Linked DNA regions of Homo sapiens: all the other regions are linked to region 7. The links are contacts of gene promoters, found by promoter capture Hi-C in human tissues and cell types (Jung and others, 2019). All regions are on one chromosome and are shown on one strand. The core of a region is centred on a gene start or on the middle of the fragment in contact, and the rest is flanking DNA. Distances in the headings are between cores, read along the strand shown. Region 1 overlaps TANGO6 (transport and golgi organization 6 homolog). Region 2 overlaps CDH1 (cadherin 1). Region 3 overlaps TANGO6 (transport and golgi organization 6 homolog). Region 4 overlaps TANGO6 (transport and golgi organization 6 homolog). Region 5 overlaps CDH1 (cadherin 1). Region 6 overlaps TANGO6 (transport and golgi organization 6 homolog). Region 7 holds the start of ZFP90 (ZFP90 zinc finger protein).

Evidence for each region. The method cuts DNA at HindIII sites, captures the fragments that hold promoters and counts their contacts. A contact is called where the count stands out against the background at its distance.
Region 1: a fragment that was not itself captured here is called in contact with the fragment with the promoter of ZFP90 in region 7 in 4 of the 25 tissues and cell types used here (IMR-90 fibroblasts, aorta, dorsolateral prefrontal cortex and 1 more).
Region 2: a contact is called between a fragment that was not itself captured here and the fragment with the promoter of ZFP90 in region 7, in 4 of the 25 tissues and cell types used here (hippocampus, lymphoblastoid cells, mesendoderm cells and 1 more).
Region 3: a fragment that was not itself captured here is called in contact with the fragment with the promoter of ZFP90 in region 7 in 3 of the 25 tissues and cell types used here (lymphoblastoid cells, mesenchymal stem cells and small bowel).
Region 4: a fragment that was not itself captured here is called in contact with the fragment with the promoter of ZFP90 in region 7 in 6 of the 25 tissues and cell types used here (IMR-90 fibroblasts, aorta, dorsolateral prefrontal cortex and 3 more).
Region 5: a contact is called between a fragment that was not itself captured here and the fragment with the promoter of ZFP90 in region 7, in 7 of the 25 tissues and cell types used here (H1 embryonic stem cells, bladder, dorsolateral prefrontal cortex and 4 more).
Region 6: a fragment that was not itself captured here is called in contact with the fragment with the promoter of ZFP90 in region 7 in 3 of the 25 tissues and cell types used here (liver, lymphoblastoid cells and spleen).

The regions. Positions count from the first base shown.
Region 1 is chr16:68,942,677-68,946,047 of GRCh38, forward strand. All of the region lies in intron 14 of TANGO6 (transport and golgi organization 6 homolog), which reads left to right. Among named protein-coding and RNA genes, the nearest start is that of TANGO6, 100 kb to the left of the region's middle. The HindIII fragment of the contact is 7,830 bases long and covers 1-3,371 here.
Region 2 is chr16:68,808,922-68,811,472 of GRCh38, forward strand. CDH1 (cadherin 1) reads left to right here. Exons shown (of 16, transcript NM_004360.5): 6 at 1,276-1,420. Among named protein-coding and RNA genes, the nearest start is that of TANGO6, 33 kb to the right of the region's middle. The HindIII fragment of the contact is 3,618 bases long and covers 1-2,551 here.
Region 3 is chr16:68,988,721-68,992,458 of GRCh38, forward strand. All of the region lies in intron 15 of TANGO6 (transport and golgi organization 6 homolog), which reads left to right. Among named protein-coding and RNA genes, the nearest start is that of HAS3, 120 kb to the right of the region's middle. RefSeq lists enhancers at 1-223, 224-723. The HindIII fragment of the contact is 4,563 bases long and covers 117-3,738 here.
Region 4 is chr16:69,033,596-69,037,335 of GRCh38, forward strand. The region is part of intron 16 of TANGO6 (transport and golgi organization 6 homolog); the gene reads left to right. It also overlaps the pseudogene RPS2P45. Among named protein-coding and RNA genes, the nearest start is that of HAS3, 70 kb to the right of the region's middle. The HindIII fragment of the contact is 4,241 bases long and covers 1-3,532 here.
Region 5 is chr16:68,825,465-68,829,372 of GRCh38, forward strand. CDH1 (cadherin 1) reads left to right here. Exons shown (of 16, transcript NM_004360.5): 14 at 2,710-2,840. Among named protein-coding and RNA genes, the nearest start is that of TANGO6, 16 kb to the right of the region's middle. The HindIII fragment of the contact is 4,654 bases long and covers 137-3,908 here.
Region 6 is chr16:69,013,927-69,017,840 of GRCh38, forward strand. The region is part of intron 15 of TANGO6 (transport and golgi organization 6 homolog); the gene reads left to right. Among named protein-coding and RNA genes, the nearest start is that of HAS3, 90 kb to the right of the region's middle. The HindIII fragment of the contact is 8,154 bases long and covers 1-3,914 here.
Region 7 is chr16:68,537,434-68,540,800 of GRCh38, forward strand. It overlaps ZFP90 (ZFP90 zinc finger protein), which reads left to right and starts at 1,858. Exons shown (of 5, transcript NM_001305203.2): 1 at 1,858-2,046; 2 at 2,325-2,392. The coding sequence starts at 2,360. The HindIII fragment of the contact is 20,432 bases long and covers 1-3,367 here.

The DNA.
Region 1 (3,371 bases), core at 743-3,242, 410 kb after region 7:
AAACACTTTCATGTCAGGCCATAATGGCAGAGTTAGAACTGGAGAAAAAGTTCAGGAGCTGATGACAAAGTTGAAGGAGAGAGTTATCATCTCAGGCCTTTTTAAGGGGAGAAAATGCTAAATGCAGTGATGTATGACCTATAAATCACAAGTAGCAAGATACTGCAAAAGTCAAGCCTCTGAAATATGAATCTGAGAAATTTTATTTCATTTATTTAATTTTTAATTTTTTTTTTTTTTTTTGAGACAGGGTCTGACTGTCACCCAGGCTGAAGTGCAGTGGCACAATGTCAGCTCACTGGAACCTCCACCTCCTGGAGTTCAAGCAGTCCTCCCACCTTAGACTCCCGAGTAGCTGGGACTACGGGCATATGCCACCACACCCAGCTAATTTTTGTGTTTTTTGTAGAGACAGGATTGTGCCATGTTGCCCAGACTGGTTTCAAACTCCTGGGCTCAAGCAATCAGCCTGCCTCAGTCTCCCAAAGGGCTGGGATTACAGGTGTGAGCCACTATGCCTGGCCTTATTTATATTTATATTCTTATTTTTATTTTTTATTTCTCTTTTTTTCTTTTTTTTCTTTATTTTATTTTATTATTTTTATTTTTTGAGACAGGGTCTTACCTTGTCACCCAGGCTGGAATGCAGTGGCATGATTAAAGCTCACTGCAACCTGAATCTGAGAATTTTTTTTTTTTTTTTTTGAGACAGAGTCTCGCTCTGTCACCCAGGCTGGAGTGCAGTGGCGCAGTCTTGGCTCCCTGCAAGCTCCGCCTCCTGGGTTCACACCATTCTCCTGCCTCAGCCTCCCGAGTAGCTGGGACTACAGGTGCCTGCCACCACGCACTGGCTAATTTTTTGTGTTTTTTAGTAGAGATGGGGTTTCACCATGTCAGCCAGGATGGTCTCAATCTCCTTACCTCGTGATCTGCCCTCCTTGGCCTCCCAAAGTGCTGGGATTACAGGCGTGAGCCACCGCACCCGGCCAAGATATTTTTTTTTTAACAGTGTCTGTAAAGTATTGTCTTGGTCTCAATTTTTTGCCCTTTAAGATAAGAATCTCCTCATTCCTTTTAGTATGGAAAGGGGGTCTTTTATATGAGAATTTTATTTTTTGCTTTTAAGAAACAGCACGAAGGTCAAAATAATATTTTTTAAAATATCTGCTAGTTTTTACGTGTTTTTTACTTAAATTGTCAGCATGCCAGCCTAGCTGAGGAGTTTTGGAAAAAGAGAGTTAGCTTAGAGCAAGAGAGTAAGAAGGAATTCTAAGAAGGGGAGGGGCAAGCTCCAAAGAGGAGAGTCTCAACCAACTTTGAGATAGTATTTTATAGCTAGTCAGTCTTTGAGTCCGGGTTGGGTTTGGTTTTTTTAGCCTAAAGATATCCCTTGAGATATGAGTCTTATTTGGAATGTATGATTTTATTGCCATGGTCTTTTAGTTTAGTTTTAAGAACAACAGACTGCATGATCCCTGTAATGTTTGAACATGTTACCAGCTGGAATCTCAAAATATATCTTGGCATGTCTTTGAACTTTGAGAGCCCATTTGTAATTAAACTTATCTAGGTGACTCAGTTTAATGTTGAATATACAAAAGCCAATTAAATGCAAGTGTTGAATATGCAAAAGCCAAATAAACACAAGTGCTGATGGAAAATAAAGTATGTACTTACCAAGAGGACGATCAGCTGCCTTTCCCAACTGAAGGGAAAAGGAAAAATTCTTTCACCCAGGCCTCAACCTGGAGGAAAAATATCTCTTCACTCAGACCTCACAGCTGAGGTCTGCCAGGAGGAAAAGAGTCCTCCCCAACAGATGATCTCCCAACCAGAGAGAGACCCCCCTCCAAATAAGAGGAGGAAAGACCCTTCTCTAAGCAAATCCCAAACAAAACAGAACTTTACCCAAAGCAGGAGTGCCATCCAGGAGACTCACCAGGGAACACCTAGCTGACTCGTGGGAGAGAGGGTGCTCAAAGGCCCTCAATGTGAGTACCTTATGTCATAGTTCCAAGGGCCGATGATTTTTCCCAAGGTGAGTCAGGTTTGGAATCCCACTTCTGACACCACATATGTCAAAATCAAATAAAATATAAGGACAAATCTCTAAATTTAAAACATTTTGCAGAAGCAAGAATTGCAATTCAGGGCATACACAGACAGGGTGGTCTTCCATATGTCTGAAGAACAAAGATAAGTTTAGAGGTTTGGCCGGGCACGGTGGCTCACGCCTGAGGCAGGCAGATCACTTGAGGTCAGGAGTTCGAGACCAGCCTGGCCAACATGGTGAAAACCCATGTCTACTAAAAATACAAAAATTAGCCAGGTGTGGTTGTGCACACCTGTAATCCCAGCTACTCTGGAGGCAGGAGAATCACTTGAACCCAGGAGGTAGAGGTTGCAGTGAGCTGAGATCAGGCCACTGCACTCCAGCCTGGGTGACAGGGCGAGACTCTGTCTCAAAAACAAAAAAGAAGAAGAAGAGGAAGAAGTTTGGAGATTTTATAAAAAGGAGAAATGTTACATACTGTTCCAGAAAGAAAGTTCATTGGCACTGTAAAGTTCTGAGCAGCTGACAAGCTCTGAGGAGTGACAGTGGTGGGTAAAACTAGTCTTAGAGTTGCAGCAAGTTTGTTTCAGTAGCTAAGATAAAACTGGTTTTAGGTTACTTTTTTAAATTTCTTTTTTATTTTATTTTTTTTTAATTTCTTGGTTTTAGGTCACAATAGGGAGTTTCAGCAGCTGGGCTTGTAGGGAATTATACTTTTGGGGCAATATTATGTGCACTGCGTGCTTTGTTTCCCTGGCCTCTCAACTCTTAGGTGGGTATGACAAAAATGACCAAATTTGTTTGATCAGCTTTCACATAGCCACCCTAATGGGTGTGAAGGGGTATCTCATTGTGATTTGATTTGCACTTCACTCATGACTAGTGATGTTGAAGATCTTTTTATGAGTTCATTGCCCATTTGTAAATCTTCATTAGAGAAGTGTCTATTCAGATTCTTTGCCTTTTTTTTTTTTGAGATGGAGTCTCACTCTGCTGCCCAGGCTGGAGTGCAGTGGCATGATCTTGGCTCACTGCAACCTCCACCTCCCAGGTTCAAGTGATTCTCCTGCCCCAGCCTCCTGAGTAGCTGCGATTACAGATGCCTATCACCACACCCAGTTAATTTTTGTATTTTTAGTAGAGACAGGGTTTAGCCATGTTGGCCAGGCTGGTCTCGAACTCCTGACCTCAGATGATCCCCCGCCTTGGCCTCCCAAAATGCTAGGATTATAGGCGTGAGCCACTGCGCCCAGCCTCTTTGCCCATTTTTAATTTTTTTTTTCCTTCCTATCATTGAGTTATAACAGTTCTTTATACA
Region 2 (2,551 bases), core at 1-2,500, 270 kb after region 7:
TCCGCAGATCAGAGGCTCTGAACACATGAGGAGCTTAACTTGACACCTCTTGACCTGTTGCTAAGGAGAAGTGATGGGAGAACGTGGGACAGTTTGGGGTTGTTAATTTTTCTCCTTGTCAGGAAGAAAGGAAGGAGAATCCGCATGCATCCTCATACAACCAGGACAAATTTAGACCCAAGATGTCAACCTGTTCTTGGGGCTGGAAGTCCCTGACCTAAAGGAACAGGACAGTGATGATATAAGGGAGCAAAACCCATTTCTTGGGCTTGGCAGCAGCAAGAGCTTAGGAAAACCAAGAGGTCTTTTTTTTTTTTTTTTGAGATAGGGTTTCACTCTGTCACCCAGGCTGGAACCACAACCTCCACTTCCCGGGTTCAAGTGATTCTCCTGCTTCAACCTCCCGAGTAGCTGGATTATAGGCAGCTGCCATCATGCCCAGCTAATTTTTTGCGTTTTTATTAGAGATGAGGTTTTACCATGTTGGCCAGAGTGGTCTCAAACTCCTGACCTCAGGCGATTCACCCTACTTGGCCTCCCAAAGTGCTGGGATTACAGGAGGGAGCCACTGCACCCGGCCTACAAGAGGTCATTTGTTTTTGTTTTGGATTTTTGTTTTTTTGAGACCGAGTCTACCTGTGTCACTCAAGCTGGAATGCAGTGGTACAATCTTAGCTCACTGCAGCCTGGACCTTCTGGGCCCAAGCGACACTCCCACCCCATCTTCCTGAGTAGCTGAGACTAAAGGCGCAGGCCACCACACCCAGTTAATTTTTGTATTTTTTGTAGAAACAAGATCTTGCTATGTTGCCCAGGCTGGTCTTGAAATCTTGAGCTCAAGCAATCTGCCCACCTCGGCCTCCCAAAGTGCTGAGATTACATGAACCACTATGCCTGGCCAGGAAGTCATATATTGATGCCAAATTCAGAAATATCTGGGGGAAATGCTAGACTAAAAGGACCAGAGCAAGTTTCACCCGGCATGGAATAAGAGTTTTTCAGGCCCGCATCTTCATCTCTAGGCCTGATGCCCTGGTCCTCGTGTGGGAAATGGGAGGTCTGAGCCGTGGGGGGTGTTCTCCAGCCCATGGCTCTTACCTTGTTATAATCTCACTGAAGCAGCAGCAGCACATGTGTGAGAAAAGTCACCCACTGGGGGTCTCAGAGCCTAGGAAGGTGTGGCAGCCAGGGGGGCGCACTCTGCTCTGGCTGGGCCCCTTCTCCCATGTTTTCTTCCTCATCAGAGCTCAAGTCACCCTCACTTGGTTCTTTCAGCTCTTCTCTCACGCTGTGTCATCCAACGGGAATGCAGTTGAGGATCCAATGGAGATTTTGATCACGGTAACCGATCAGAATGACAACAAGCCCGAATTCACCCAGGAGGTCTTTAAGGGGTCTGTCATGGAAGGTGCTCTTCCAGGTATATCCACTAATGAGAATCTGAATACTCAGAAAGACTCTTAGGTTCTTTGGACCCCAAAGTGTTGTCCAAGCCCAAAGGTTGTGTAACTAAAGCTGATCCTTCCTACGGACAGAACTTCTTGGCAAGCCATTGTTGTGTTATATGCATGTGTGTAACAGTCTACCTGTGGAAACATATAAAATAGGGAGAGTTTAAGAACAATCTTCCCTTTTTTATTATTAATTTTTTTTTTTTTTAGGCTGGGCATGGTGGCTCATGCCTGTAATCCCAGCACTTTGGGAGGCCAAGGTGGATGGGTCACCTGTGCTCAGGAGTTCAAGACCAGCCTGACCAACATGGTGAAACCTCGTCTCTATTAAAAATACAAAAAAATTAGCCGGTCGTGGTGGCGGGGGCCTGTAATCCCAGCTACTTGGGAGGCTGAGGCAGGAGAATTGCTTGAACCCGGGAGGCGGGGGTTGCAGTAAGCTGAGATCACGCCACTGCACTCCAGCCTGGGTGACAGATCCAGACTCCGTCTCAAAAAAAAAAAAATTTTTTTTTCAGAGACAGGGTCTTGCTTTGTTGTCCAGGCTACTTTCAAACTCCCGGGCCCAAGCAATCCTCCCACCTCAGCCCCACAAGCTGCTAAGATTATAGGCATGAGCTACTATACCTGGCTAAGAACAACCTTCCTAATTAAGGAACAGATCTTTACCAGTACCTTAAAGCCCTAAACAATCCCCCTTGGTCACATTCTTTTCTCTCCTCCATAAAGATAACCACACCCTAGGCTGGGTGTGGTGGTTCACACCTGTAACCCCAGCACTTTGGGAGGCCAAGGTGGGCAAATCACTTGAGGTCAGGAGTTTGAGACCAGCCTGACCAACATGGAGAAACCCTGTCTCTACTAAAAATAGAAAATTAGCTGGGCGTGGCGACGCATGCCTATAATTCCAGATACTTGGGAGGCTGAAGCAGGAGAATTGCTTGAACCCGGGAGACAGAGATTGTGGTGAGCCGAATCACGCCATTGCATTCCAGCCTGGGCAACAGGAGCAAAACTCCGTCTCAAAAAAAAAAAAAAAAAAAAAGATAACCACACCCTGACTTTTGTGGTAATCATTCCCTTTCTTTTCTTTATTACCA
Region 3 (3,738 bases), core at 1,148-3,647, 450 kb after region 7:
GGTCTCATTTGCTCTGTCTCCCAGGCTGAAGTACAGTGTTACAATCACAGCTCACTGCAGCCTGAAACTCCAGGGCTCAAGTGGTCCTCCCACCCAGTCTCCCAAGTAGCTAGGACTACAGGTGTGTGCCACCACGTACAGCTAATTTGTTTTTTGGTTGTGGGGGGACCGGATGTCACTCTGTCTTCCAGGCTAGAGTGCAAAGCCATGATCACAGCTCACTGCACCTCGACCTCGCAGCCTCAGGTGATCCTCCCTCTTCAGTTTCCCAAGTATGGGACTACAGGTGCATGCCAACACACCTGGCTAATTTTTGTATATTTTGTGGGAATGGGTTTTCACCATGTTGCCCAGCTGGTCTTGAACTCCTGGGCACAAGTGATCTGCCCACCTTGGCCTCCCAAAGTGCTAGGATTACAGGCATGAGCTACCACGCCCAGCCCATGATTCTTAATCTCCATTTTTGGCTTAATAGCTCTACTTCTGTTTAATTTTTAAATTTTCATTCTAGGACTTTACACATATATTAGATTTTTTTGTTCTTGTTCTTGTTCTACAAGAACAGGCTCTGTTCAATTTTTTTTTTTCAATCTTTTTCTCTCTCTTTTTCAGATTTAATAGTTTCAACTGATCTATCTTTAGGTACATGGACTCTTTCCTCTGTCATTGCCATTTCACTGTTTAACTCATCCAGTGAATATTTTATTTTCGATATTGTATTTTGCATTTCTAGAATTTGTAGTTGGTCCCTTTCTCTTTTTTTGTTGAGATTTCCTCTCTTTTTGTTCATTAGAAGTGTATTTTCCTTTATTTCATTAAGCATAGTTATAATAGCTGCTTTAAAATCCTTATCTGATAACTAAAATATCTGGGTCATTTCAGTGTTGGCCACTGTTGATTGTCTTTTTCCTTGAAAATGGTTTATATTTTCACATAATTAGAAGTTTTGGATTCTGTACTAGACATTATGAATATTATGTTGCAGAAACTGTGGTTTCTGATATAATACCCTGAACAGTGTTAAATTTTTGTTTCAACAGGCAATTAACGTAGGCTGAAATGGCAAACTTTGTCATGCCTGTGGTGGGCAGCAGCTCAAATCTCAGTTCAGTTCTTTTAGCCTTAGCTGCTGCTTTGAGTCTACTCTATGCATGGTGAATTTTAGCACATTTTTCTGAGATCCAAGAGATAAAATAGGGGACTGTATTCACCCACCTGAATCTTTATCTTATTCATGATCTTCGTCCTGCTTGTTTTCTGCTTTGGAGTACATAAAATTAAAAGAGATGAAATCTTATTCTCTCTCTTTTTCTCTCTTTCTCGCTCTGTGTGTGTGTGACTCTTGCTCTGTCACTCAGGCTGGAGTGCAGTGGTGCGATCACAGCTCAATGCAGCCTCAAACTCCTGGCTCAAGTGATCCTCCCACCTCAGCCTCTTGAGTAGCTGAGATCACAGGCATGCACCATTACACCTGGCGTATTAGTCTGTTCTCCCGCTGCTAATAAAGACATACCCGAGACTGGGTAATTTATAAAGAAAAAGAGGTTTAATGGACTGACAGTTCCACATTGCTGGGGAGGCCTCACAATTATGGCAGAAGGCAAGGAGGAGCAAAGCCACATCTTGCCACATGGTGGCAGGTAAAGAGAGAATGAGAACCAAGCGACAGGGGTTTCCCTTTATCAGATCTCATGAGACTTACTTATTACCACGAGAACAGTATGGGGGAAACCGCCCCCATGATTCAGTTATCTCCCACCAGCTCCATCCCACAACAATTGGGAATTATGGGAGCTACAACTCAAGATGAGATTTGGTTGGGGACACAGCCAAACCATATTACCTGGCTAATTTGTTTGTATATTTCGTAGAGACAGGGTCTCACTATGTTGCCCAGGCTGATCTCAAACCCCTGGACTCAAGTGATCCTCCCACCTCAGCTTCCCAAAGTGCTGAGATTATAGGCATGAGCCACCATGCCTGGCTACCATTCTCATTCATCATTGAACTCAGACTAGGTTCCATGGCCTGGCTTAGCTCAGGGAGTCAAGATCATGAAAGGATACATATGCTGTGTTAATGGATTTGGAGTTTATGTTGATTTTATAAAATGGGAGCCATTGAAAGACTTTAAGGAGGAAAGAAGTAATAATAATTATATTCTGGCAAAATTACTTCGGTCACTCTGTGAAGGATGACTTAGAATGGGACAAGACTTGAAGCAGAGAGACCTATTAGGATGTTGTTGGGGCAAGAGATGATGGTAGATCTCGAACAAAGGCTTACACGTGATAAAGACAGAAAAAAGATGTCCCCAGATAGGAAAGAAAGCATAAGAACAAAACAGAAGTGGGATGTATATGGTGAGAATGAAGAACTGAGACTTAACCTGTCCCTCTGTTGAGGCTGTGTTGGGTACCTTGGAGAAGAAAGGCTAGATAGACAGGGTAGAGCCATACCACAGACAGCTCTGAGAGCTGAGCAGAGGAGTCTAGACTTGCCATGATGGCCATTTGGGAATCACTGTAGATTCTTAAAGGAAACAGCATGATGATAAATGTATAGGTATGTGGTTGGCAGGGACATGAAGGATGCTGAAGAAAGGAGAGCCTGGGCTGGGCATGATGGCTCATGCCTGTAATACCAGCACTTAGGGAGGCTGAGGTGGGTGGATCACTTGAGGTCAGGAGTTCAAGACCAGCCTGGCCAACATGGTGAAACCCTGCCTCTACTAAAAATAGAAAAAGCTACTAAAAATAGAAAAGGAAAAATTAGCCAGGTGTGGTGGTGCACTCCTGTAATCCTAACTACTCAGGAGGCTGAGGTGGGAGGATTGCTTAAACCTAGGAGGGAGAGGTTGCAGTGAGCCAAGATCGCACCACTGTACTCTCCAGCCTAGGCGACAGAGTGAGATTTCATCGATAAATAAATAAATAAAAATACAAAAATTAGATGGGCATAGTGGCATGCATCTGTAATCCCAGCTACTCGGGAGGCTGAGGCAGAAGAATCACTTGAACCCGATTAAAGGGAGGCAGAGGTTGCAGTGAGCCAAGATCGTGCCACTGCACTCCAGCCCGGGTGACAGAGCAAGACTGTCTCGCAAAATAAAAATACAAAAGAAAGGAGAGCCTGGAGCCGGAGAGAAAGCTGGGAGGTGGTTGTGGTATTCCTTGACACAAAGAGATGAGGATTTTGGTTAGAGGAATGGCTGTGAAAATGGTGAGAAAATGTGAATACTATAGGCAATTCAGAGGAATAAATGAGAGACCATCATCCTTTTTTTTTTAAACATTTAGTGAAAACGGGGTTATAATCCACCCAGCAACTATTCTCACAGAACTATTGAGAGGCTCAAATAAAGTAATATATATGAAATCGCTTATAAATATATGAGTATCATCACAGAGATCTATTTATCACTATATTTAGTCTTCTAGTAGGGTTGCCAGATATCAAAGTGGGGAGGTGGGACCATCTACAGTGGCAGCCACTGGGCAGGTAAATAAGAATTCGACATATGGACTTAACTTTGAATGCATTTTAGTTTTCTTTAACAGAAGTGCTATCTGTGACCCTGGAGTCATAACTAACTGGGTTTTGATCTCGACTCTAACCTTTAGTAGCATGGACAAGTTATATAACTTCTTTGTTCCTTATCTGTAAAGTGGGGATAATTCTATTAAATATCTGATAGGATGGTAATGAAATTAAATAAGATAATTTATGTTAAGTGTT
Region 4 (3,740 bases), core at 162-2,661, 500 kb after region 7:
GAAGCATAATCTATTTTGAGATAAAATTGAACAGCTTCCTTTCTGAGAAATCACCAAACTGGAGGATAACGCCAATGTGGCGGGAGGTCCTGGAGGCCCTGGGGACCCTAAATGGAAAACTGCCATGGCTTCCTCAGAGGCTTTGGTAGCAGCATGCAGGACTGGGCTCGCAGCCATGGTCAAGGCTAGAGCTGAGGCTGTGGAACTCACAGAGACATGACTGAGGACAAGGAGTGGATACCCATCACCAAGCTGGTCCCTCTGGTCAAGGATATGAAGATCAAGTCCCTGGAGACCTATCTCTTCTCCCTGCCCATCGAGGAGTGTGATATCATTAGCTTTTTTCAAGGGGCATCTCTCATGGGTGAGGTTTTAAAGATTATGCTTGTGTAGAAACAGACCCACACTGGCCACCGCACCAGATTCAAGGCATTTGTTACTGTTAGGGACTATGATGGCCACATCAGTTTAAGTGTTAAGTGCTCCAAGGAGGTTACTACTGCCATCCAAGGGACCATCACCCTGGCCAAGCTTTCCATTGTCCCTATGCGGAGAGGTTACTGGGGGAACAAGATCGGCAAGTCCTACACCACCCCCTGTATGGTTACAGGCTGCTGTAGCTCTGGGCTAGTACACCTTATCCCTGCCCCCAGGAACAATGGCATCATCTCGACTCCTGTGCCCAAGATGCTGCTGCTGATGGCCGGTATTGACAACTGCTACACCTCAGCCAGGGGCTGCACTGCCACCCTGGACAACTTCACCAAGGCCACCTTCAATGCCATCTCCAGGACCTATAGCTGCCTGACCCCCAGCCTCTGGAAAGAGACTATTCACCAAGCCTCCCTGTGGAATGCACTGACCATCACATCAAGACCCACACCAGAGCCTCCATGCAGAGGACCCAGGCTCCAGCTGTGGTTACAGCATAAGCTTTCATACAAGAATAATAGTGAATTACACCTGTTAAAAATAATAAGCAGAAGAAAATGAAATTGAACAAACCAGCCACCGTAGTCCCTTCTAAAGCGACGTGGTCTGCGGGCATCAGTGCCCTTCCTCTCTGGCTATAGCTCTTCGGCATCTGAAGAAAGTTATCCTAACTATTGGGTGATCCAGATTTGGGCACTGTCTGCTATGATGATGCCAGCTGGTCGGGAAGGAATATAAAGTATAGGCTCAACCCTTCCACAGTCACTGTACTGGGAATTCAGGCTTTTCCTCTCTGTTGATGTCAAGAATTAACCTGTAGATAACATTCTTTTTTTTTTCTTTTTTTTTTTTTTCAATTTTTCCTTGTTCTTGTCAAAGGCTGTGTCGCTTAAAACCAAATCTTGATAGATTCTTCATCTTTATCACTCTCTATGAGAAGTAAATATGATTTAAGTGAACCACAGTGAGAGGCCTGTCCTCACTACAGCAAATAAGATGTGTCCCAGGTGACAAGTCCAGTCTCCTTTTAACATGGTGCCCAGAATTCCACATACCTGAGCTTTGGGGGCTGATACAAAGCCACTGCCTCTGATCCCACGGAATGACCTGAATTTACTATCAGTTTTGCCACAATCAGTGCAGTTTGAGGATACGTAGACCCCTGAGATGAGGCCTGAGATAGATGTTCTGGGAAACCCCAAGGAAGCTAAAGTACCTGCCATGGTTTCTTTCATGGCAGGTTGAGTAAGCCAAGCTCCTGAGAATGATTGGTCACATTGTCTTTGCTGTTAAGGTTTCTTGGTTTACAGATGGTGAAGTTGCAGACAAGTTAGCAAACCAACTGAATTTTAATAAAGGAAGCTTTAGGAAAATGGATGAAGATGCAGTTGGAAAATTAAAGTCATGCTTCCTTGATACATACCTCAATTCTGGCAACTTCTCACTTGGAATTTTCCAAAGTCAGTTTTTGGTAATCTTGCCATTTGTATTATCTTTATTTATATAGTTCTGGTTATGCTTGGTGTGTGCCAGCTGTTTTGGGAGTGATGTTTTTCCTTATTTCTCTTGGCTCCTGTTAAGTGTTAAATTGCTGAAACTGACCTTTAATGCTTCCAAAGCAATCAGCATCTTTCTCTCTGGATGGCTTTTAGAAGTGGACACAGTTTACTGATTTAGCCAGTGAAGAGAAAGCTTTCCATAGTGTGGTTTACTCAGAGCAGGTGACAAAAGGATGAATTTCTGGCTGGGCCCAGTGGCTCACGCCTATAATCCCAGCACTTTAGGAGGCCAAGGTGGGCAATCATTTGAGGTCAGGAGTTTGAGACCAGCCTGGCCAACATGGCAAAACCCTATCTCTACTAAAAATACAAAAATTAACCAGGTGTGGTGACAGGCACATGTAGCTACTCAGGAGGCTGAGACAAGAATCACTTGAACCCGGGAGGCAAAGGTTGCGGTAAGCTGCGAGCATGCCACTGTACTCCAGCCTGAGCTACAGAGCAAGACTCTGCCTCAAAAAAAAAAAAAAAAAAAAGAATGGATTTCTGCCCTCTGAGAGGACTTAGAGTATAGAAATAATACACCAGTTCATCATCTATCTATCTCACCAAGGCTTTTAGAGGTAGAACTCAGTGTTCATTATGTCGTTGGGGTTGGAGGTGAGAGACTAGCCGTGAAGTGACTTTTCCAGCCTGGATACATAGAAGAGAGTGGCCTACATCCTCCCCACTTCTAGTGTTGGACAAGGGGTCTGTCCCATTGGTCTGCTGGAGAGCAGCATTACAAGCTGGTTATGGGTGCTTGACCTGAACTGAAGACTGTTCTTATATTTAGATGATATCCGTAAGACCATATTAAAATTCCGATGCTCAGAAAGCATTTTGCGTGACAGACCATTATACATTTCACATGATTTGGTCCTGGTGACAGAGGGGTTGAGGAAGTTTCCCAAATGCTCTTCTGTTCTCGGGCCTCTTCCTGATTGTCCTGGATGGCTGACTGCAGATGGGTTTGGTGGAGTCTGGCGCATAAGTCACTAACAGCCCGTAGCAAGCAGGAGGCTATTTCAGCTGATCTCAGCAAGGCTTGTCATAACTAGCTCCTCTCTCAGTCATACCTTCAAGGTGGCACAGGGATTCAAGAATTGGCCTTGACCGGGGTGCAGTAGTTCATGCCTGGAATCCCAGCACTTTGGGAAGCCGAGGCAGGCGAATCACTTGAGTCCAGGAGTTTGAGACCAGCCTGGGCAACATGGCAAAACTCCATCTCTACAAAAACTACACAAATTAGCTATGCGTAGTGGTACACGCCTGTAGTCCCAGCTACTCCGGAGGCCGAGGTGGGAGGAGTGCCAGAGCCTGGGAGGTGAAGGCTGCAGTGAGCTGAGATCATGCCACTGCATTCCAGCCTGGGTGACACAGTGAGACTTTGTCTCACAGAAAAAAAAAAGAAAAAGAAGAAGGCTGGGCATGGTGGTGCATGCCTATAGTCCCAGCTACTAGGGAGGCTGAGGTGGGAGGATTGCTTGAGCCCTGGAAGCAGAGGTTGCTGTGAGCTGAGATCGTGCTACTGCACTCCAGCCTGGGCAACAGAGTGAGAGTCCATCTCAAAAAAAAAAAAAAAAAAAAAGAATTGCCCTTGAAGGGAAAGCCCTTTTCCAGGCAGGATGCTTCTGCCTGGACATCCCAGCTGTGGGATTAATGCACAAATGCCCAACTGTGAGAGCCAGCCTTACACTGAGAGCTGAGGTGGAAGCATGACCCGCTCAGCAAAGAGAGGCAGGACAGAGGTGACAAAGGCAGACACCA
Region 5 (3,908 bases), core at 1,214-3,713, 290 kb after region 7:
GATCCTGCTGCTGCTGCCTCAGTGGACTCCAGGAGAGGGTGCCTTTCAACCTTCCAGAAATGTCTGCTGGGCATCCCATTTGCTTCTGCCCCCTCCTGGTGTCCTCCCAAAGTTGAAGAAAAGGATAGTGCTGTTGAGAATTGAGCAAGCCTTCTGGACTTTCATCCTGCCAGGCTTTACATGGCTTTATTGTGCCATGAGATTAGGTTAATTCATCATTGCCTTGGGCAGGGTAACACAAGCCCTGCCTGCCCACTTCCTAGTCAAATTACATTTCAGTGGCCTGGTCTGCTTTTGGTATAGTGGTTACTGACCAGTACATTCATTCTAAAGGGAATCTTTTTTTTTTTTTTTTTTTTTTTTTAGGCAAGTTCTCATTCTGTGGGCCCGGCTGGAGTGCAGTGGAGTGATCTCAGATCTCAGGTCACTGCAGCCTTGACTTCCGGGGCTCAGGCAATCCTCCCACCTCAGACCCCTGGGTGGCTGGGACCACAGGCATGAGCCACCACACCCAGCTAATTTTTTAATATTTTTTTGTAGAAACAGTGTTTCCTTATGTTGCCCAGGCTGGTCTCAAACTCCTGGTCTCAACCAGTCCTCCCACCTTGGCCTTCCAAAGTGTTGGGATTATAGGCATGAGCCACTGTGCCCAGCCAGGGAATCTTAAAGATTGTAGTTATACTTGAAATATTTTTTTTTTAAATAGGATTACCTAAATTTGCTATGGGTATGTATTTTTTTAGACACTGGGGGTGGGGATTCCCATGTAGAGCAACATTTAAAACAGAGGCAATGCCAGAGTTCAGATGTTCAATTTCAATTTCTTGTATTTTTAACTTCTATGATTATTTTTTCTTTCTTTATTAGAGATGGGTTCTCACTATGTTACTCACATTGGTCTCAAACTCTTGAGCTCAAGTGATCCTCCCACCTTGGCCTCCCAAAGTGCTGGGATTACAGGTGTGAGCCACTCCTCCGGCCAATTTCTTGTTTCTTAAGGGCACAAATGTGCTAGAGGCTGGGCACGGTGGCTCACATCTATAATCTCAACACTTTGGGAGGCTGAGGTGGCAGGATTGCTTGAACCTAGGTTTCAAGATCAGCCTAGGCAACATAGCAAGATCCCATCTCTATTAAAAAAAATTACTAGAGAGACACCAGGAGATCTGAAGCTTTTCATGTTTTCCGCCAATGTTTGATTGCTTACTCTGTGCCAGGCTTTTTCTCAGAGCCTGCGGATACTGGGCTTCTGGCACAGCTGATAAGAGGGGTCATTTTGGAAACGGTAAACTGCCTCTTGCTTTGCATGGATGGGGACTGTGTAGCTCCTATAGTCTTGTTCAGTGCTGTCTCCCTGTGCAGCCAATTCAGTGTTCTTGTTGATGAATCATGGACAAGGGAGTTATGCTGTTTATCTGGATAAGGTTTCTGGCATTTTTCTGGTTTTAGAAATAGGTAGTTGAGGTACATCTGAGAAATCTTTTCCCCAAGTTTATGCAACCTCCTGTTTAAAGATTATGCTTCGGCCGGGCGTGGTGGCTCACGCCTGTAATCTCAGCACTTTGGGAGGCCCAGGTGGGTGGATCACTTGAGGTCAGGAGTTTGAGACCAGCCTGGGCAACATAGTGAAACCCTGTCTCTACTAAAAATACAAAAATTAGCTGGGCATGGTGGCAGGTGCTTGTAGTCCTACCTACTTGGGAGGCTGAGGCAGGAGAATCACTTGAACCCAGGATGTGGTGGTTTCAGTGAGCTGAGATTGCGCCACTACACTCCAGCCTGGGCAACAGAGTGAGACTCTGTCTCAAAATAATAATAAATAAATAAATAAATAAAGATTATGCTTCATAGGGTACAGTATATAGGTACTTGGGCACCCATGGATAGAAAACACATGGAATCTTTTTTTTTTTCATTCACAGTGAATAATATATGTATTTTCTAAGTTAAGTGGTTTCTTTCTGGCTGCTTTAGAGATTTTTTTTTTAAAGTTAAATGTTAATTGTGTATATCCTAGAAATAATCCCAAGATCAAATGTAACCCTTGTGTTAAGCCTTGGAAGTTAAATAGATTTTAAAGCTTGCTTACATGATTCTATCTTAAGAGAAAATAAGAACATACCAGGCAATTTTATAGTCTCTGTCCCACTCCCCATAGCTGGTTATGTATCAATCACATTTGGGCTAACCTAGGAGCCCTGCTCACAAACCTTCAATGGCTCCAACTCAGAATCAAAGCCAAAGTCCTCACAGTGGCCCATATGTCCCTCCCGCCCTGCTTGCCCCTCTGAGCTCTTCTCCATGTCTCTTCCCCTCATGCACCCTGCTACAGCCATGCTGGCCTCCTCACCTTCCCTCCATCACACCAAACATGCTCCTCCTGCCTCAGGACCTCTGTCCTTACTGTTTCCTCTGCCTGGAACACTTTCCCCCAGATTTGGGAAAATGACAGTGATTGAGTTTAAAACCCATCTGAAAGTTAAGGACCATGCTTGAGTTCACATATCACTGTCTACTATGTTGTACTGTACATACCGACTTCAGGGATGTGAGTGTCACGTGGATTGACATCTTCAAGTGTATTGAAGGCAGCTAGTGGCTGTCTAACTGCCCCCTGTCTGGTATGAGGGGTGCTCTGTGATAGCTGCTGCTTCTGGCCTTCTTTATCTTTGGCTCTCAACACTTGCTCTGTCTCCCCCACCATCCCAGTTCTGATTCTGCTGCTCTTGCTGTTTCTTCGGAGGAGAGCGGTGGTCAAAGAGCCCTTACTGCCCCCAGAGGATGACACCCGGGACAACGTTTATTACTATGATGAAGAAGGAGGCGGAGAAGAGGACCAGGTGGGTTTTGAAAACCTTGGTAGCTCAGTGGTGATCTCTTTATTCGGAAGAAGCAATGATTAGTAAGAGGTAGGCATTTGAAACAGCTCTGAATCACTTTGGATATTATCTTTTTAAGGCCTTACCCAAGAAAGTAGACATTGTCATTGACCATCATCATCATCACATCATCACCAACACAGCTAACATTTATTGATCGCATACTGTTCTGCACCTCAGTGAGCGAGCTGAGGCACAGAGAAGCTCAGTAACTTGGCTAAGGTCACACAGCTAGGAAGCGACAGGGCTAAATGGTCTGTCTCAGAGCCTGCCTTCCTCATTGCCATTCTCTGGACGTGAACTTCAGCCAGATTCTCTTTGACATAGAACAACTGGTCTGCTTTGTTTCTTTTGAGTTTTTAGCTAGACCAAACTCCTTTTCTGTCATGGTTATACCTTCAGTCCCTCTGTATTTCCTGATTTTGGAGATGATCTTAACATCTTACCCTGGAGTTGTCCAGGGAACTGTTCAGTGTCTTGGAGAGCCTACTTATTATAGAAAGGGATCCATGGGGGTCTATTACAGAGTCCTGTTTTTGACTGAGGCCACAGAGTGAGGCACAATTTACTGAGCTCCATACAACATAGGGAGGTGGGTGTACAGAGAAAAATATTGTTCTAGATTTCAGGGACTTGTAAGTCTAGTTTGGGGATACCACGTATATTGTATCAGTGAGCAATAGAGCAACCAATCGTGGAATCTCAGCGGCACACAACATGCGTATCTTTCTCATGTACCGTGGGGTAGCTGGAGCAACTGCTGGTCTCATCTAAGCTCATGAGAATCTGTAGGATGGCTGGGGCTCAGCAGATTTAGGCAGAGTTTAGCTGAATGGCTCTAACCTGTGAATTGTGTCCAGGTCTGTTCCATGCAAGTCTCATCTTTGTACCAGAAGCTGGTGCCTTTCAGACCTTTGCCTGTGTCATATGTTACTGTCCCATTGGCTAAGCAAGTCACACAACAAAGCCCCAGATCGATGGATGTATACTTTTCTCACAAGCTGGGGTTGGGAGGGAGTGAATATTTGC
Region 6 (3,914 bases), core at 658-3,157, 480 kb after region 7:
GGATTACAGACGTGAGCCACCGTGCCTGGCCCCCAAGTTCCTTAGTTTTGACAAATCTAACTTTTTTGATGTTTCATATTGATAGACATAGGATTGACATTGAGGTATTCTACAACTTTATATATGAAGAGCATTCCAGTTTTCATATATCAGGATGCTTTTGGCTGCAAGTAACAGAAATTCCCAACTCAAGTGGCTTAACAAAGAATGAATTATCACACATAACAAAAATTCCAGGATTGCTAATTCTCTAGCTCAGTGACATCATTGAAGACCCATATTCTTTTCATCTTTCTCTGTCAACCACAGCTTATGGGCCTTATCCTTTAGTTCCTCATGGTTTCAAGTTGGTTGCAGCAACTCTAAGGCAACCCTAATTCATATATCCTTATGATAGCCAAAGGCAAAAAGTTTTCTGAGAGTCTTCTAGCAGACTTTCCTTCACAACTCCTTGTCCAGAACTGGGTCACATGCCCATGCCTAAACCAATTAAAGCAAAGGGAGATGTCCACCACGATTCACTTAGACCAATGGAAACTGTAGCCTGAATCACATGGGGAGGGATGGCGACAGGTGGATACTTGAACAAAATTAATGTACTGTTTGTAAGGAAAATTGGGAAAATGCCAGTGAGATGTATACAAAATTTGACATAGAGGAATCCCTAAAGCTCAAATTAACCCCTGGGCTGGGCACAGTGGCTCACACTTATAATCTCAGCACTTTGGGAGTCTAAGGCAGGAGGATCACTTGAGCCCAGGAGTTCGAGACCAGCCTGGGCAACATAGCAAGGCCCAATCTCTGTAAAAAAAATTGTAACCAGCTGGGCATGGTGGTGTGCATCTATAGTCCCACCCTACTCAGGAGGCTAAAGCAAGAGGATCTCTTGAGCCCAGGAGTTTGATTCTGCAGTGAGTTATGATTGCACCACTGCACTCTAGCCTGGGTGACAGAACAAGACCTTGTCTCAAAAAAAAAAAAAAAAGAAAAAGAAAAGACAAAGAACCTCTTATGTAGGATCTTAAAATTCAATGCCTATGCCAAATTGCAGCCCTGGAAGATTCTTTGACTATGTGCATTCATTTTGTTCTCCATAGAAACCAGTTCAAGCCAACTCCCACCTGGAGACTAGGGTACAATACAGTCCTGAGACCTCTATCACAAGATCAGAAGGGAGGGAAGATTAGTCAGAGGGTAGCAGAGCCCCAAGAAATGAAGGCAAGGTCATAAATCCCCAAAGAAGACCAGGTTTGAGCCAAGTATGTGACAGATCTAGGCTATGTATGTGAGGCCTAAGAGAGGTCCAGTCTCGGAGAACGTGGAGGCAGGGGCCCTTTGAGAAATGCAGAGTGGATGCAGTGAGTGTTCCAGTTCTTCCAGTCCAACACTTGGAAAACAAGGTAGCAAGTGAGCCCAGAGCCAGCTGACCAGGTACAATGCAGGGTCTGAGATGCTGACACTCCCACTGGCTTCTTGGGTTCTCAGATGTAGCTGGGATGGGTTGATGGAGCATGTAGTTTAACAGATGCTCATTTTATTTTATTTATTTATTTATTTATTTATTTATTTATTTTAAACAGAGTCTTGCTCTGTCGCCCAGGCTGGAGTGCTGTGGCATGATCTCGGCTAACTGTAAGCTCCACCTCCTGGGTTCACGCCATTCTCCTGCCTCAGCTTCCCGAGTAGCTGGGACTACAGGCGCCCGCCACCACGCCCAGATAATTTTTTGTATTTTTAATAGAGACCGGGTTTCGCCATGTTAGCCAGGATGGTCTCGATCTCCTGACCTCATGATCCGCCCCCTCTGCTTCCCAAAGTGCTGGGATTACAGGCATGAGCCACCGCACCTGGCCAATGGATGCTCATTTTCAAAGGAGTGCTGGAGCTCAGTTAGGGCAGGAATTTACATAAATGGAACGTTAAGTTGCAGTTTTGTTAATATAGTGATATGCTCTTGACTTATATGGCCAGTCAGTATAAGAAACAGCCGTATGATTCCTGCATTGAATATAAAGCTTCTATTGCCCACTCTCTTCTTCACTTTTCCACCAGGCCCTCACATGCCTTGTTCCTTGAGGTCTTCTCCTCTGAGAGCTCTTCCCTGAGCCCTCACCCACATTGTCAACTCCCCCGCTCCTTATTTTTTTTCATAGCCTTCATTGCTGCTGGAAATTTTATTATTTATTGTCTTTCTTCCCCGCTAGAAGTAGGCTTCATGAAGATGGGAGCTTTGATTTCTTGTTCATGCCATATTGTCCTCAGTACTGAGAACATTGGCACATTGGAGTACTGTGGGCACTCAATTAAGATTTGCTGGATCAATTAGCCAGGCGTGGTGGCACATGCCTGTAATCCCAGCTACTTGGGAGGCTGAGGCAGGAGAATTACTTGAACCTGGGAGAGGGAGGTTGCGGTGAGCCGAGATTGCGCTGTTGCATTCCAGCCTGGGCAACAAGAGCGAAACTCCATCTCAAAAAAAAAAAAAAGATTTGCCGGATGAATGAATGAGATACCTCTTAGTGTCCTTCCTGAAGTTTCTCTCTCTTCATGATGTTCCTTCTTTTATTGGATAATGAGAGCTGTGTTTTCTAATTCCTTTTTTGCCTTAGCTACCAAGAATTGTAAAATTAAACTACTAAACTCTTGGTTTATTTGCAGTAGCCATTCTTAGCTTGGGATGTCTGCACTTCTCTCACTTACTGTAGAGGTTTTAAAATATTTATTTTATGTATTTTATTTTATTTATTATTATTATTTTGAGATGGAGTCTCTACCCAGGCTGGAGTGCAATGGTGCGATCTCAGCTCACTGCAACCTCCGCCTCCTGGGTTAAAGCTATTCTTCTGCCTCAGCCTCCTGAGTAGCTGGGACCACAGGCAGGCACCACCACACCTGGCTAAATTTTTTGTATTTTTAGTAGAGATGGGTTTCACCATGTTGGCCAGGATGGTCTCAAACTCCTGACCTCAGGTGATTCGCCCACCTCAGCCTCCCAAAGTGCTGGGATTACAGGTGTAAGCCACCATACCCAGCCTAAAATGTTTATTTTAATGACACATGGTTTCAACGTTATTTATTGTAAGTTGCTTCAGATCCTGTGTGGAAGTAAACGAAGACTGAATAATAAGTGAACTAATTGAAGGGTAACAGGGAGTAGTGAAAAAAAAATGAACACACTTTAGAGTCTGAGCAAATAAGATAATACTGGAGCTGTTGTTAATAGAATAGAAACCAGATCAAACATTACTCATAAAAGTCCCTCTCTGTCACCATTTTGGCACATCTCACTCCATTGTTATTGCTTGGTCAGTATTTTTCCTCTTCCCCATTAGGTTTTGCCATGAGGGTAAGGACTGTATCTTTCTTGCTTATGATTAGTCCCCCAGGGCCCAGCACAGTGGCAGACACATAGTACACACTTAATCATTATTTGATAAGTTAATATGCCTTTTCTTTATCATTTATTTTTAACTATAAGCCACTATATTAGTAAACATTAAAATGTTTCTCCTGTGTTCTTACCCTTTTCAACCTGCAATTTCCCCTGCTTGTAGATTCCAAACTTCCTTCATTTTTTATGTGCCTTCCTTCCTGACAAGGAACCTTCTTCCTTTAACCACAACAGCCTCCCACTCCAGGGCTCATGAATGTGTGCCTTTTCTTCCTTCCCCAGTCTCCTAAATCTCATTTTCCTAATGACTAAACTGAAAGTGACTCACCAACTCACACACTTAGAAGTGGAAGGGGCCTGAGAGGTCATCTTGTCTCACTGGCTCATCTCCACTTCCAGGGAAGCGAAGTGAATTGCCCAGGGGTCACTCTGCTGGTTGGCAGCAGGGCCAACCCTAGAACACAGATCTCTAACTCTGGATCCTCATCTCCCACTGCAGAGTGAGCAAGCCCCCTTCCTAACT
Region 7 (3,367 bases), core at 608-3,107:
CCTTAAGTTGCAGCTACTAAGTCACTTGCCTCAGAGAGGCCTCCCGGTCCACTCTAATTCATACTTGTGAATTATGCATTCTGCTAATTCCAGACCACTATATTCACAAAGCAGTGATAGAAAGCATTCATTAATTTTTATATATATTTTTTGAGACAGTCTCGCTTTGTCGCCCAGGTCGGAGTGCTGTGGTGAAATCACAGCCCACCACAACCTCTGCTTCCCGGGTTCAAACGATCTTCCCACCTCAGCCTCCCAAGTAGCTGGGACCACAGGCGCACACTATTGCAACCAGTTAATGTTTGTATTTTTTGTAGAGACAGGGTTTTGCCATGTTGCCCAAGCTGGTCTTTTAATTCCTGGGCTCCTCCCTCCTCAGCCTCCCTGTGCTATTGACGTGTTATTTCATTACTTGTTAGCCCCTTGCGCAGGATTTTGTGTTTGGGACAAGCCAACAGTGATGGAAATTTTCTCCCTTTTTTGTTTTGTTTTTTTTGAGATGGAGTTTTGCTGTTGTTGCCCAGGTTGGAGTGCAATGGTGCAATCTCGGCTCACCACAACCTCTGCCTCCCAGATTCAAGCGATTCTCCTGCCTCAGCTTTCTGAGTAGCTGGGATTACAGGCATGCGCCACCAAGCCTGGCTAATTTTGTATTTTTAGTAGAGACGAGCTATCTCCATGTTGGTCAGGCTGGTCTCGAACTCCTGACCTCAGGTGATCCGCCAGCCTCAGCCTCCCAAAGTGCTGGGATCACAGGCTTGAGCCACCGCACCCGGCATAAAGCATTTATTTTTGAATGTTCATATTTTTGATAAAGCAGTGTGACATCAGGAACATTTCGTTGCAGTCATTTTCTACCATGTTGGTATGCAATGCTCTAATGTTAAGAAATCAAGCTGAAATCTAGGAAATGTAGCCTGAATGTCTGTGATATATAAGACATAATTACATAAACGTAATAGCTGTATCTAAAAGTTGACCTATCTTTGTGTTGAAAATTTCCATCGGGCCGGGCGCGGTTGCCCATGCCTGTAATCCCAGCACTTTGGGAGGCCGAGGCGAGTTCGAGACCAGCATGACCAACATGGAGAAAACCTGTCTCTACTAAATATACAAAATTAGACGGGCCTGGTGACGCATCGCATGCCTGTAATCCCAGCTACTCGGGAGGCTGAGGCGGGAGAATCGCTTGAACCCAGGAGGCGGAGGCTGCGGTGAGCCAAAATCGCGCCATTGCACTCCAACCTAGGCAACAAGAGCGAAACTGTGTCTCAAAAAAAAAAAAGAAAATTTCCATCATTGTTTGCTTGTCCCAAACAAAATCCTGCGTAAGGGGATACGAAGTAATGAAATAACACGGCAGTAGATCTGCCTTTGCACATTGCTCAGGAGGCCACGGATTTGTCCGAAGTTTCTTTTTTCTCTAAAATGAGAAATGGAAAATTGCCTTTTGAAGAAGATGTAAATGCCCCACCCTCTGACGCTGTCTCACTCCCTTCCTGTGTCACTCTTACCGCTGAAGTCAGGACCTGACATTATCTTGTTGACATGTTTGCGTTTTTATCGTCAGCCTCGTCGAAAGGGGCGTACGATTGCTCCCCGAAACCAGGGTCTTTCCCGGCCGATTCCCCAGCTAGCAACAAGCCCCTTGCAAAGAGGAGGCGGACAGTGACTGGAATACAGGGACACGCACACTCGAGCCACACTGGCCGCCTCCCTCGGCCCTCGCAAGGGTCCCTAACGCGCCTTCGGAAGCCGCCTAGGCGGGGCCTGCGCGCGCGGGCCTCTGGGAAGTGTAGTTCGCGCGCCCGGCGTGGACCCGGGGTTGCAGGAGCGAGGCTCCGAGTGCGCAGGCGCACTTCCAGTTCTGCCCCACCGCTGCGGCCATTGTCCGACCCCGGTGCGGCTGAGGCCCCTTTGGGCAGCCCCTCCGCAGATCAGAATTGGAGATAACCGAGGCTTCGGCGGGGGCGGGAGGAGCTGCCCGAGGCTCTGGGTGGGCCGGAGGTCGCGAAATCCGGAGCCCCCCAGAGGCGGTGATTCTGAGTGCGCGGGTCTGGGCGGGACCCCTCCTGGGTTTGGCGGGTGTCAGCCGGGCCTCGCCCACCACCCTGCGAAGGGGACTGGGCGTGGCCGGAGGGGGGTGTCCGGGAGGCCGCTGAGCCTTTCATTTCGGGGATGGGGAGCGGCAGGCCCGGGCTGGTTCCACGGTCCTCGCCACCATCTCCCCTGGAGATGTGGTTTAGGGGCGGAGGTGGGGCGGGGCGGGGCGGGGTGGGGTCGGTGTTGCAGCGGGGTGAGTGGGCCCTGTCCTTTCTCCCCAGCTCCTGCCCCGGAGCCGGGCCCTGGCGAGGCAGGAATGGCCCCGAGGCCTCCGACCGCCGCGCCCCAGGTGAGCAACGCGTTCCTAACCTCCTGGGCATCCCATCCATCTATCCATCCCATCTCCCAAGGGTGTTTGGAGCAGTCATTGTTCTCTGCCTGGCGACTCCCTTACTTGCTTGGCTCGATCGGAGCCTCCTGGCCATGGAAAACCCCAGGCTTTGGGGAGCTGGATTCCCAAAGGGGAGGCTGCTCTGTGGGGTAGAGAGGGCCAGTGTGGTGCGATCTTGTGGGAGGAGTTGAGATTGGATGCGTTGGGAAGTGTCAGTTTTGAGAGTCCTGAATGCCACGCCAGTTTTTTGAACTCTTGTCAATAAGAAATGGAGAGAGTGGGGTCACAGGATGGAACACTGTAGAGGAGGAAGTGACTGTCGGCAAGTGTGGAGAGAGGAGCCCCAGCTTCTGACCCAGGGCCCATAGAGAGTCCGTAAGGGGCCGTAGAAGCCTGGTTAGAACATGTCTAGGAAGAGGCTGGAGATGGGCTTTCTTGGGCAAGGAGGCAAAAACAAAACAAAATAAAAAACAACCAAAAATAAAACCAGGGCTGATTCTCCCAGAGCTTTTTGTGTCTGTCCTTTTCTGCTTTAACAAAAATGTAATAGAGCAACTCACTCCCCACCGCCAGAAGTCCAGCCTTCACCTTAATGTGAGGCTGATTCGTGAACCCATTTATTCTTGTGGCAGAGGGGGCATTTTCTAGAAGCGTCACAACTCTAAGGTTATCCATTGATTTACATATTGGTGAAAATACATCAAGATCCAGATGGTATCTGTATCTTTGAATCTACATTCTCTTTAGAATTAAGGGAAAATGACAGATTGTAGTTGCTAGGTGTGTGAGACATCAAGATCAATTCAAATAAAAATACCAAGTTGCCAGGTACAGTGGGTCACACCTGTAAGTCCAGCACTTTGGGAAGCTGAGGCAATAGGATCGTTTAAGCCCAGGAATTTGAGACCAGCCTGGGCAACATAGTGAGACTCC